2 separate regions of the Homo sapiens genome follow, and region 1 is linked to region 2. Evidence: promoter capture Hi-C in human tissues and cell types (Jung and others, 2019). All regions are on one chromosome and are shown on one strand. Each heading gives the region's core, a stretch centred on a gene start or on the middle of the fragment in contact. The rest is flanking DNA. Distances are from core to core; before and after follow the strand shown. Region 1 overlaps LINC02348 (long intergenic non-protein coding RNA 2348). Region 2 holds the start of CHSY1 (chondroitin sulfate synthase 1).

Region 1 (4,693 bases), core at 2,064-4,563, 360 kb before region 2:
TGGCCTCCTGACTCCCAATCCGAAACAACTGCTGAGCACAGAAGGCAGAGCAGGGCCCTGAGAGTCAGAGGAAAATGCTGCTGCGGGGACTGGGGAGCCCCATCGGGTGACTCCCCAGAGATGTGAGCAGGTGCAGAGGCTGGAACAACAGGTGAGGCATGTGGGACCAGGAGGCCGGGTTGTGGGAAGCAAGGCATTTGTGGGAATCCGGGTTCCCCAGTGACACTGGAACCCTTCCTGCAGTCCCTGATATTCCTGGGGCTCGTCAGGGCTTCCCGTAACAGCCCAGGATTAAGTTTGTTCTCTTCCCTACCCCCAACACGCAGTGCTGCAGGAAAGTCTCTCCCGTGGATGCTGTGGCCTGGGGCTTGGGTGACGACGTGCACGGCTGCCTCCTCGCTGTCACGTGCTCTGCTGGCTCGTCTCCAAGCTGTGCTGCTCATGTTCCAAAGTCTCCCTGGAGGCTTTAGTGAAAAGCCCTTTCCCCGGTGACCTGGAGTGTCTTGCTAGATGGAGCTGGCCAAGCCTGACGTCTTTTCCTGGCCGATGCCTCAGTCCTTATGCAAGTAGGTGCAGCCACAAAAGGCACCTTCATGGGAATTAGGAACAGAGGATGCCAGGGCTGGGTGTCTCACCAGTGACTGCTGGGCCAGGGAGCAGACCCCGTGCAGACCTGCCCAGGCAAATCTGCTCCCCAAGTAGGGTGTACCAGGGGAGAGGGGAGGGCTGCACAGACCCCTGCTTCCAACATGCAGCTCTTTTGGACACTAGGTGGGGAGGAGGTGGGCTGGCATTTCTTTAAGGCCGCTGCCTGCTTTGGACACACTCTCATGGTTTCTCAGCCCGAGGGCCACTAGAGAAAGGTAGAGGGACCAGAGACTGCTGGAGTAAGAGTGCATGCACAAGGGACAGCCCCAGAGAGGTACCGCCATGCTGCCATGCCTGGGAAATGTGCCTCATGGGGCTTAGGGGGACCATCCACAGTCCCAGCAGCCCCAGCCCCTGCACAGGGGTCACCCGTGGTTTTTATGGGGTCCCGACACCCAGGCACCAGCACACGCTCTTCCATGGAGATCCCATGGAGAGGGATGCCTGCGTGGAGGCCACAGCACTTCTACCAGACCCTGCCACCAGCAGCCAGGCTTGGGAAATGGGGTGGGGGTGGCGGCAGCCTGGCCTGGTCACCGACATTAGCAGTCACCTGCCCAAGGCCATGTGGGGAGGGAGCAGCAAGGAGAGGCCGAAAAGCAAGCTGCGGCCTCAACCGGCCCTGGGTGCCCTCCCAGCCAATATCCAGAGGTGCCCAGCCGGAGGGCCTCACTCACCAGGGCCAGGGCCTCAGCCAAGCCCCAGGTCCCCTCCCCAGCACCCACGGAGGTCATCTTCAGAATTTCAAACGTTTGTCAATGAAGTGCTCCCAATGGAGGCCTCACCAAGCCTCAGTTTGGAAGATCTGAGCAGGTGCTGCTTCCAATTGTGCTTGGCTGTCTGGAGAGTCTCTTCTAAGAAAGTCCCTGCCCCGGGGAGCAGGGGTCAGGTGGTAATATAGCAGTCACGCAGAGAGGAGGCTGGGGCATTGGAGGACAGAGGAGGAACCAGCTCCGGGCTAGGAGAGGGGGAGCTGCGTTGGGTTCGCAGCCTTTGCAGGCCCCACCCAGGGCCCTAGTGTTGCTTTAGGAGCTGGGCAGCCACAGCTGGTGGGATGAGAGTTAAGTCCTGCAAACAGCAGCCTGGCTGCACTCACTGGAGAGCGAGAGTGGGTATGACCCAGGGTGGTGGTGATGCCGACAAGTGGCTGCACCCAAGGACTGTTTAGGAGTGAAAACCAAGCAGACGGTGGGAGATGGGCATGTGGGGAGCAGGGGTGTCCGGGAGCACCCAGGCTTCTGGATGCACAGTGGGAGGAGGATGGTAGAGGGGACTTGTGGGCCCGGGACCCGTATCGAGCAGTGCTGAGTCTCTGGGTCTAGAGCCCAGGAGCTGTTGGGCTGGACATACAAACTGAGAGTCCTCAGCACCTCAAGGACACTAAAGTGACAGCAAGATGAGAAGAGAGCAGGCCCACAGTGGCCTGCCCTGCCACCAGGGGCGTGAAAACCTGAGACATTCATCCTGTTGGCCTGGCGCCTGCAGCTGGCCCCCTGCCTTGCGTGTCACGGAGGCACTCTGCCTTGAGGGTAGAATGTTCTGGGAAGGCACTGTCTGGTGTTTGGTTAAATGACAGGTCAGGCTGAGCCTTGTGCATTTATGGGAGTTGATACATGTGTGTATAAATACATATGTACATATACACACATTTATACCATGTGCACACACACATACACACATGTGTATGCATAATATACAGTCATTTGCACATATATACACATACACCTATCTACAGTACGGGTGTATGTATACATATCAATATTTATTTGTAATTTCTGTCCTCTCTCCCTCCTGAATAACCTAGCAAGTTAGACCTTAGCTTTATGCTTTATTCTTCTCTCATCTACCTTTTTTTTTTTTTTTGAGATGGAGTCTTGCTCTTTGGCCAGGCTGGAGTGCAGTAGTGCAATCTCTGCTCACTGCAACCTCCGCCTCCCGGGTTCAAGCAATTCCCCTGCCTCAGCCTCCCGAGTACAGGTGCTCACCACCATGCCCGGCTAATCTTTTGTATTTTAGTAGAGACAGGGTTTCACCATGTTGGCCAGGATGGTCTCGATCTCCTGACTTTGTGATCCACCCACCTCGGCCTCCCAAAGCGCTGGGATTACAGGCGTGAGCCACCACGCCCAGCTCTTTCATCTACCTTTCACTAGTGAGACCATGAAAGGGGACATGTGGAAGCCAAGCCGCTGCTAACAGGCCCATGAATTCCCGACTTAGCGACACTTTGTTTAAGCACAGGGAGATGCAGCTAGGCGTGGCCAGGGCAGACTGCAGACGGGGCTCCTCGGACACTGAGCCACGGCTTTCTTGAACTAGGTCAGACATCAGACGCTGTTTTAAGGAAGAAAGGATGACCCGAAGGAGGGCCTTTGGTTGAGGCCTGGAGGAACAGTGGGGAGGAGGGGCAGGTGATAAAATGAGCAAGTGGGGGCAGGGCGGGGGCAGCCTTGGGTAGGGCACTGGTGAAGGGCAGTCAGAGAAAAGAGAGTCTCTTCTAAGAAAGTCCACTCTGAGCCCTGCTTTTGAGTAGGATCTCTCTAAGAGTGCAGCGTGGAGCTTGCAAAGGCTTCACTAGTTAGACCTGGGACGTTGGCCCGAGCATGACAGCAGGAATGGAGAGGGGTGTGCAGAGGGTGACGCAGGAAGGGGAGGACTGCGCCTGGGAGGAGGGGACCGTCACTGGCCCCACAGTCTACAGGCTGCCTCCCAGGCCAGGGCGGTCCACTCACCTCAGGTCTTTCCGACCCTGTCCTTGGGTACTGTGAGGCTCTCTGCATCACCCCCATACTCACATGTCCTGCACTTGCTGTTTCTGGGGTCTTCCCTTAGCATCTTGCTTGTGGGAGAGGTTGGTCCTGTCTGCACACTGAACCTTGAAGACATCCGTCATGCTGACCCCCGACCCCAAGGTGTCCCCTCTGTTGAGAGGTGCTCCAAAGCGGAGTGTAGCCCTCTTCCCTCATTAGCACAGGCTCTGGGCAGGCAGCCTCTGGGACCTCGGCCCCACCAGCCCAGCCCCCTTGGCAGAGAGCTCTTGGGGCTCCCTGCCAGCCGCGCAGCGCCCAGCGTTGCCCTAGTAGCAGGGACGGCTTGGGAAGGGTTTTATCTCTGGGAAGGGACTGTCTCCTCTGGGTTTTATTATAAAGGCTAGTTGGTCCCTGGGAAAGTGGAAAAGGAAGATCAGATGACCTGCCTGCATTTTGTTTTCTCTTGGCGAAGGCTGAGCTATCTGATGGCAGGTCCTGAGATCAGCGTCTGGGGCCAGTTCCCAGGGATAGGCTATCCCAGCAGGACCGCAGCACCTGCTGATGCCCCTGCAGCTGCCAGATCCTGGGAGGTGGCATCACTGTGCCTGCCATTAAGGTGGACGTGAGGCAGGACTTCATCCTGGAGCTGGAAGAAGCCTCAGGGTCATCAGTCCTCAGAGTGGCATCAGGCCCACCCTCACCGCACAGGTGGGGCCTCAGGCCTGGGAGCGTGACCGACTGGCCCCCAGTCTTTCCACCAGCCAGGAGTAAGGTCGGGACTAGACTCCTGACTCGCTGACCACCATACCTACAGCCATTCCCTCACTCTCCTTCAATGACCTCAAGTGGGGGCAAAAGAGCGGCTGCCATGACCTCAAGGACTCTCAGATGCATGGCAAACGGCAGGTCTGACCGTGCCGGAAAGGGTCCAGGGGAAGGCTGCTGCCTCCATCCTCGGGCCAGGACATGAAGGGGCATCAACGTCAGGGCAGAAAACAGGAGCAATGGGAGGTCCTGAGTGAATCCTGCAACAGAGAAACTCTTGCCTGCACCCTCTCCTCTGTCCCCCCTCCACCGCCCCATCTCAATGCCACAGGCTGAACCGGAGACCTGTCTTGATGCCAGAGGGGGCCAGCAATTGCCCAAAGAATGCGGAGCTCCCCCTGGTTTGTTGCTGGGGGCCCTTAATCCCAGTGCTGTGCTGGAGCTGGCTTGTAACATTCAATAGAACCAAGCGTTAAATGTGCTCAGATTTTGTGAGCCAGTTGTAAATATAGGCATTATTCACAATTAAT
Region 2 (4,141 bases), core at 600-3,099:
ATATTATTCCCATCAGATATTTATATACTTTTTTTTTTTTTTTCCTTGAGACGGAGTTTCGCTGTTGTCGCCCAGGCTGCAGTGCAATGCAATGGCACGATCTCGGCTCACAGCAACCTCCACCTCCCGGGTTCAAGCGATTCTCCTGCCTCAGCCTCCCGAGTAGCTGGGATTACAGGCATGCACCACCACCCCCGGCTAATTTTGTATTTTTAGTAGAGTCGGGGTTTCTCCATGTTGGTCAGGTTGGTCTCGAACTCCTGACCTCAGGCGATCCGCCCGCCTCAGCCTCCCAGAGTGCTGGGTTTACAGGCGTGAGCCACCGCGCCCGGCCAGCTTTTCACTGGACACTAGTTTCGAAGAAAACTAGGTAAGTCTAAAGCAGGTTAGAAAATACTGAAATCGTTGAATATGCTACAAAATTGAACATCTGAATCTGGCCAGATTCGTACTTCATGTAAATCACTGTGAATGATGGGGCTGCTGAATTTGGGGGATCTGGTGACTCCTCGGCATTTGTGGTTTATGGTCTTAGTGGAAACCTTTTTCGATGGTTTTCGAGCCTGTAATTCATGGTTGTATGTTCTGTATTTTTCCCAAGACCACTGCTGGAATCCTGTATTCACTGCATAATGAGTATTTTATTTTTAGATGTGGATCACCCCTTAGGGAGGGGCTCTGTGGGAAGGTAGGTAATGAACTATTTTTAATATAAATCACAAGTGTCAAAGAAAGTGGTAATATCCAAAGAATAAACAAGAGTGACCACCATTCAGGTGCCGAGAAGGTATCTGAAGCTCCCACAGGCATTTTAAACTGTGTGATAGTATTTCAACCATTTGGTCAACAATGAAGAAAGATCCAAGGATTGCCCCAGGCATGTGTTTATTTGATTCAATGCAGGTAACTTCTCAGGCCCAGGGAAACACTTTGCCCTTCAAAAGTTTCATTAGAAAACCCCAATATACTGGTGACTAAGTAACAAGACTGAAACTCTACACAAACTTTCGTTGTATGGAGACCTCCGCTTTTGCTGCCTTAGCTGAAGTATTGCAGAGGAAATGTATAAAACTTAAAATCCAGAGTAGAGGATCTGGGACCCAAAATCCGTCTTTAGAAATCCACGGCACTTTTACAGACGGACTATATTAAAGTAGGGACAAAGTCCCAGGCTGGGGGTACTAGCCGGCTATCTGCCCACACAGTATGTAAATGAAAGTAGGGTTTACCATCCAGGGCATTAACTTCATTTTCCTTGTCTTCGAGATCCATTAAATGCTAGTACTGTATGAGAAGCGTGGACCTTAAGTATTAAAGATGGCTTTTTCTTCTTCTTCTTCTTATTTAGCGTAGAAACTAGCAACAGGGAACAAGGTAACTGAATTCACGGTCCACTCGCAGGCGCGCACGTCCCCAGGGCTCCGGGACGGCTGTTCCCTGCGTGCGGCCGCGGGACTGCGGACAAAGCTGCAGTGTGGTCGGGAGCGCGGGGCCGGGAGCGCGGGGCCGGCCCGGCGGCAGGAAGGGCGTGGCCGTGGGGTGCAGCGAGGACGGCCCGTGCGGGAGGAACGTGCGCAGCGTGGAGTCTGGGGGCCGAGAAGCCCCCACTGCAAGGCTGGCTCCCGAGATTCGCGCCCGGGCGCCGCGGTGCGGGAAGCGGCCGTCCTCGCGGGGACGCCCTTGCGCCGGGTGCTAGGTGCGGATCACGGGCAGCTCCGGCCCCGCGGGCGCCGGGCGGGGGCCCACGCCCCCTCCGCCCGCCAGCTCCAGTCGCAGACCGCGCGGGCGGGGCGCCCGAGAGGGCTTTTTTTTTTTTTGGTCAAACTTCGGCCACGTGAACCGCCCCTCATTCACTTTTGCGCCAATCGCGCGGCGCGGACGGATCCCGAGAGGGGCCACGGCTCGCCGCCGGCGGGGCCACTTCATAACGCGCCGTGCGTGACGTGAGGGGCTCCTGTTGCAATGGCGAGCTAAGCCGGAGGATGTGCAGCTGCGGCGGCGGCGCCGGCTACGAAGAGGACGGGGACAGGCGCCGTGCGAACCGAGCCCAGCCAGCCGGAGGACGCGGGCAGGGCGGGACGGGAGCCCGGACTCGTCTGCCGCCGCCGTCGTCGCCGTCGTGCCGGCCCCGCGTCCCCGCGCGCGAGCGGGAGGAGCCGCCGCCACCTCGCGCCCGAGCCGCCGCTAGCGCGCGCCGGGCATGGTCCCCTCTTAAAGGCGCAGGCCGCGGCGGCGGGGGCGGGCGTGCGGAACAAAGCGCCGGCGCGGGGCCTGCGGGCGGCTCGGGGGCCGCGATGGGCGCGGCGGGCCCGCGGCGGCGGCGGCGCTGCCCGGGCCGGGCCTCGCGGCGCTAGGGCGGGCTGGCCTCCGCGGGCGGGGGCAGCGGGCTGAGGGCGCGCGGAGCCTGCGGCGGCGGCCCGGCGGGCGGAGCGGCGCGGGCATGGCCGCGCGCGGCCGGCGCGCCTGGCTCAGCGTGCTGCTCGGGCTCGTCCTGGGCTTCGTGCTGGCCTCGCGGCTCGTCCTGCCCCGGGCTTCCGAGCTGAAGCGAGCGGGCCCACGGCGCCGCGCCAGCCCCGAGGGCTGCCGGTCCGGGCAGGCGGCGGCTTCCCAGGCCGGCGGGGCGCGCGGCGATGCGCGCGGGGCGCAGCTCTGGCCGCCCGGCTCGGACCCAGATGGCGGCCCGCGCGACAGGAACTTTCTCTTCGTGGGAGTCATGACCGCCCAGAAATACCTGCAGACTCGGGCCGTGGCCGCCTACAGGTGAGCCCCTGCTCCCCGGGCACCGCCTCCTGCGTCCGGCATCCCGGCGGCCGGCATCCCGGGTGCTCTCCTGGCTCTCGCCTCCGCCCGCTTCCTAGGCCCTTCTTGGGCTTCCGGCGGGATCGGGTTGCCTCTCGGGAGACGCCGGGCCGAGGGAGAAAAGATCAGAGGCGGGATGGTGAGCGCGGCGCTCAGGAACATGGCCTTTGGGGTCAGATGGACTAGTGTGGCCTCGCTGGGTGTACCTCTCACCCTGATGAAGGCACTTTAGCCTTTGCAAATCGAAGCTTCTCGTTAGAAGGGCCCGACAGATCGGGTCTCCCTCATAATGTTGGAAAACTCATAGCACAGTACCTGATAGTGGAGGCAGTTGGGGCTGATACTGGATTCCCTAAAATGTGCACCTTTGTCCTTGCAAAGCTGGAGCCCGTGTACGTTAATCTAGTTCTAGAACCTTTCCACATCATACTCTCACATTTCGCAGTTGGAGGCACTCCTATAAATGAAAGAGAATGCCCGCAGCATATTGGACCACACCAGTCTGTTGAGTACAGAGAGAGAGAACCTTGGGGAAAAGCAGTTCTTGGCCCTTGGTAGATTCAGTGGAAAACTGCATTCTGGTGTTAATTAGTTCAGCTTGGTGGTGTATGCATGTTATCCAGTAACTGGGCTCTAGTTGGCCAAATGAGTCATAAAAGCAGCTGGAATTGTGTTCAGGTTTAACAAAGGGATTAGCCAATGTAGTCTCTAGAAGGGAGATGATTTTGGAATGGCTGGCATGGTTAGAATCAGATTTGTATTGGAGTGAATTTGAAGTTGGAGAGGGTTGTAGACTCGATAAAGGGATTTGATGGAAACCCTATATGTGTGAAGTATAGAGACACTTACTGTATGGATAAAGTTTGGGTCTTATCCAGCCACAGAGCAAACCAATGTGGGGAATGGTTTTAGAGCATCAGTTGTCTGGTAATGAAATTTCAGAGCAGCCAGTGCTGAGCCAGGCTAAGCTGGTTGCTGTTTGTTCTTATAACCAATACCTTTACACTTCAGTTTTTAAATGCAGTCTTGGTCAGATTTTTCAGGCACTAGATGTTGTGAGGGGAAAAGCATATATGGTCTCCCTTGCCTTTAAGGGAGAAAGTAAAGGACTGAGAAAGAAGGTGAAAGTGGTCTTCAGTGACTGCCCCTTGAATGGCTTGATCCCCATTCCTGCACATTTCCATTAGGGTCCTGCTTAAGTCCAGAACCCACATTCCGCCAGGAAGGGTCCTGAGTGGCTTGAAAAGCTTAGAATGCAGGTATTGTAAATACAGACTAATGCAGGCGGGGCGCCGTGGCTCACGCCTGTAATTCTAGCACTTTGGGAGGCCGAGGCGGGCGG

Evidence for each region. The method cuts DNA at HindIII sites, captures the fragments that hold promoters and counts their contacts. A contact is called where the count stands out against the background at its distance.
Region 1: a contact is called between a fragment that was not itself captured here and the fragment with the promoter of CHSY1 in region 2, in 1 of the 25 tissues and cell types used here (neural progenitor cells).

The regions. Positions count from the first base shown.
Region 1 is chr15:101,609,408-101,614,100 of GRCh38, reverse strand. LINC02348 (long intergenic non-protein coding RNA 2348) reads left to right here. Exons shown (of 3, transcript NR_147041.1): 1 at 1-151; 2 at 327-566. Among named protein-coding and RNA genes, the nearest start is that of LINC02348, 2.6 kb to the left of the region's middle. RefSeq lists enhancers at 1-452, 1,271-1,771. The HindIII fragment of the contact is 4,177 bases long and covers 1,225-4,693 here.
Region 2 is chr15:101,249,756-101,253,896 of GRCh38, reverse strand. CHSY1 (chondroitin sulfate synthase 1) reads left to right here and starts at 1,849. Exons shown (of 3, transcript NM_014918.5): 1 at 1,849-2,760. The coding sequence starts at 2,441. RefSeq lists silencers at 1,385-1,764, 1,935-2,244, 2,435-2,864. The HindIII fragment of the contact is 14,328 bases long and covers 1-3,547 here.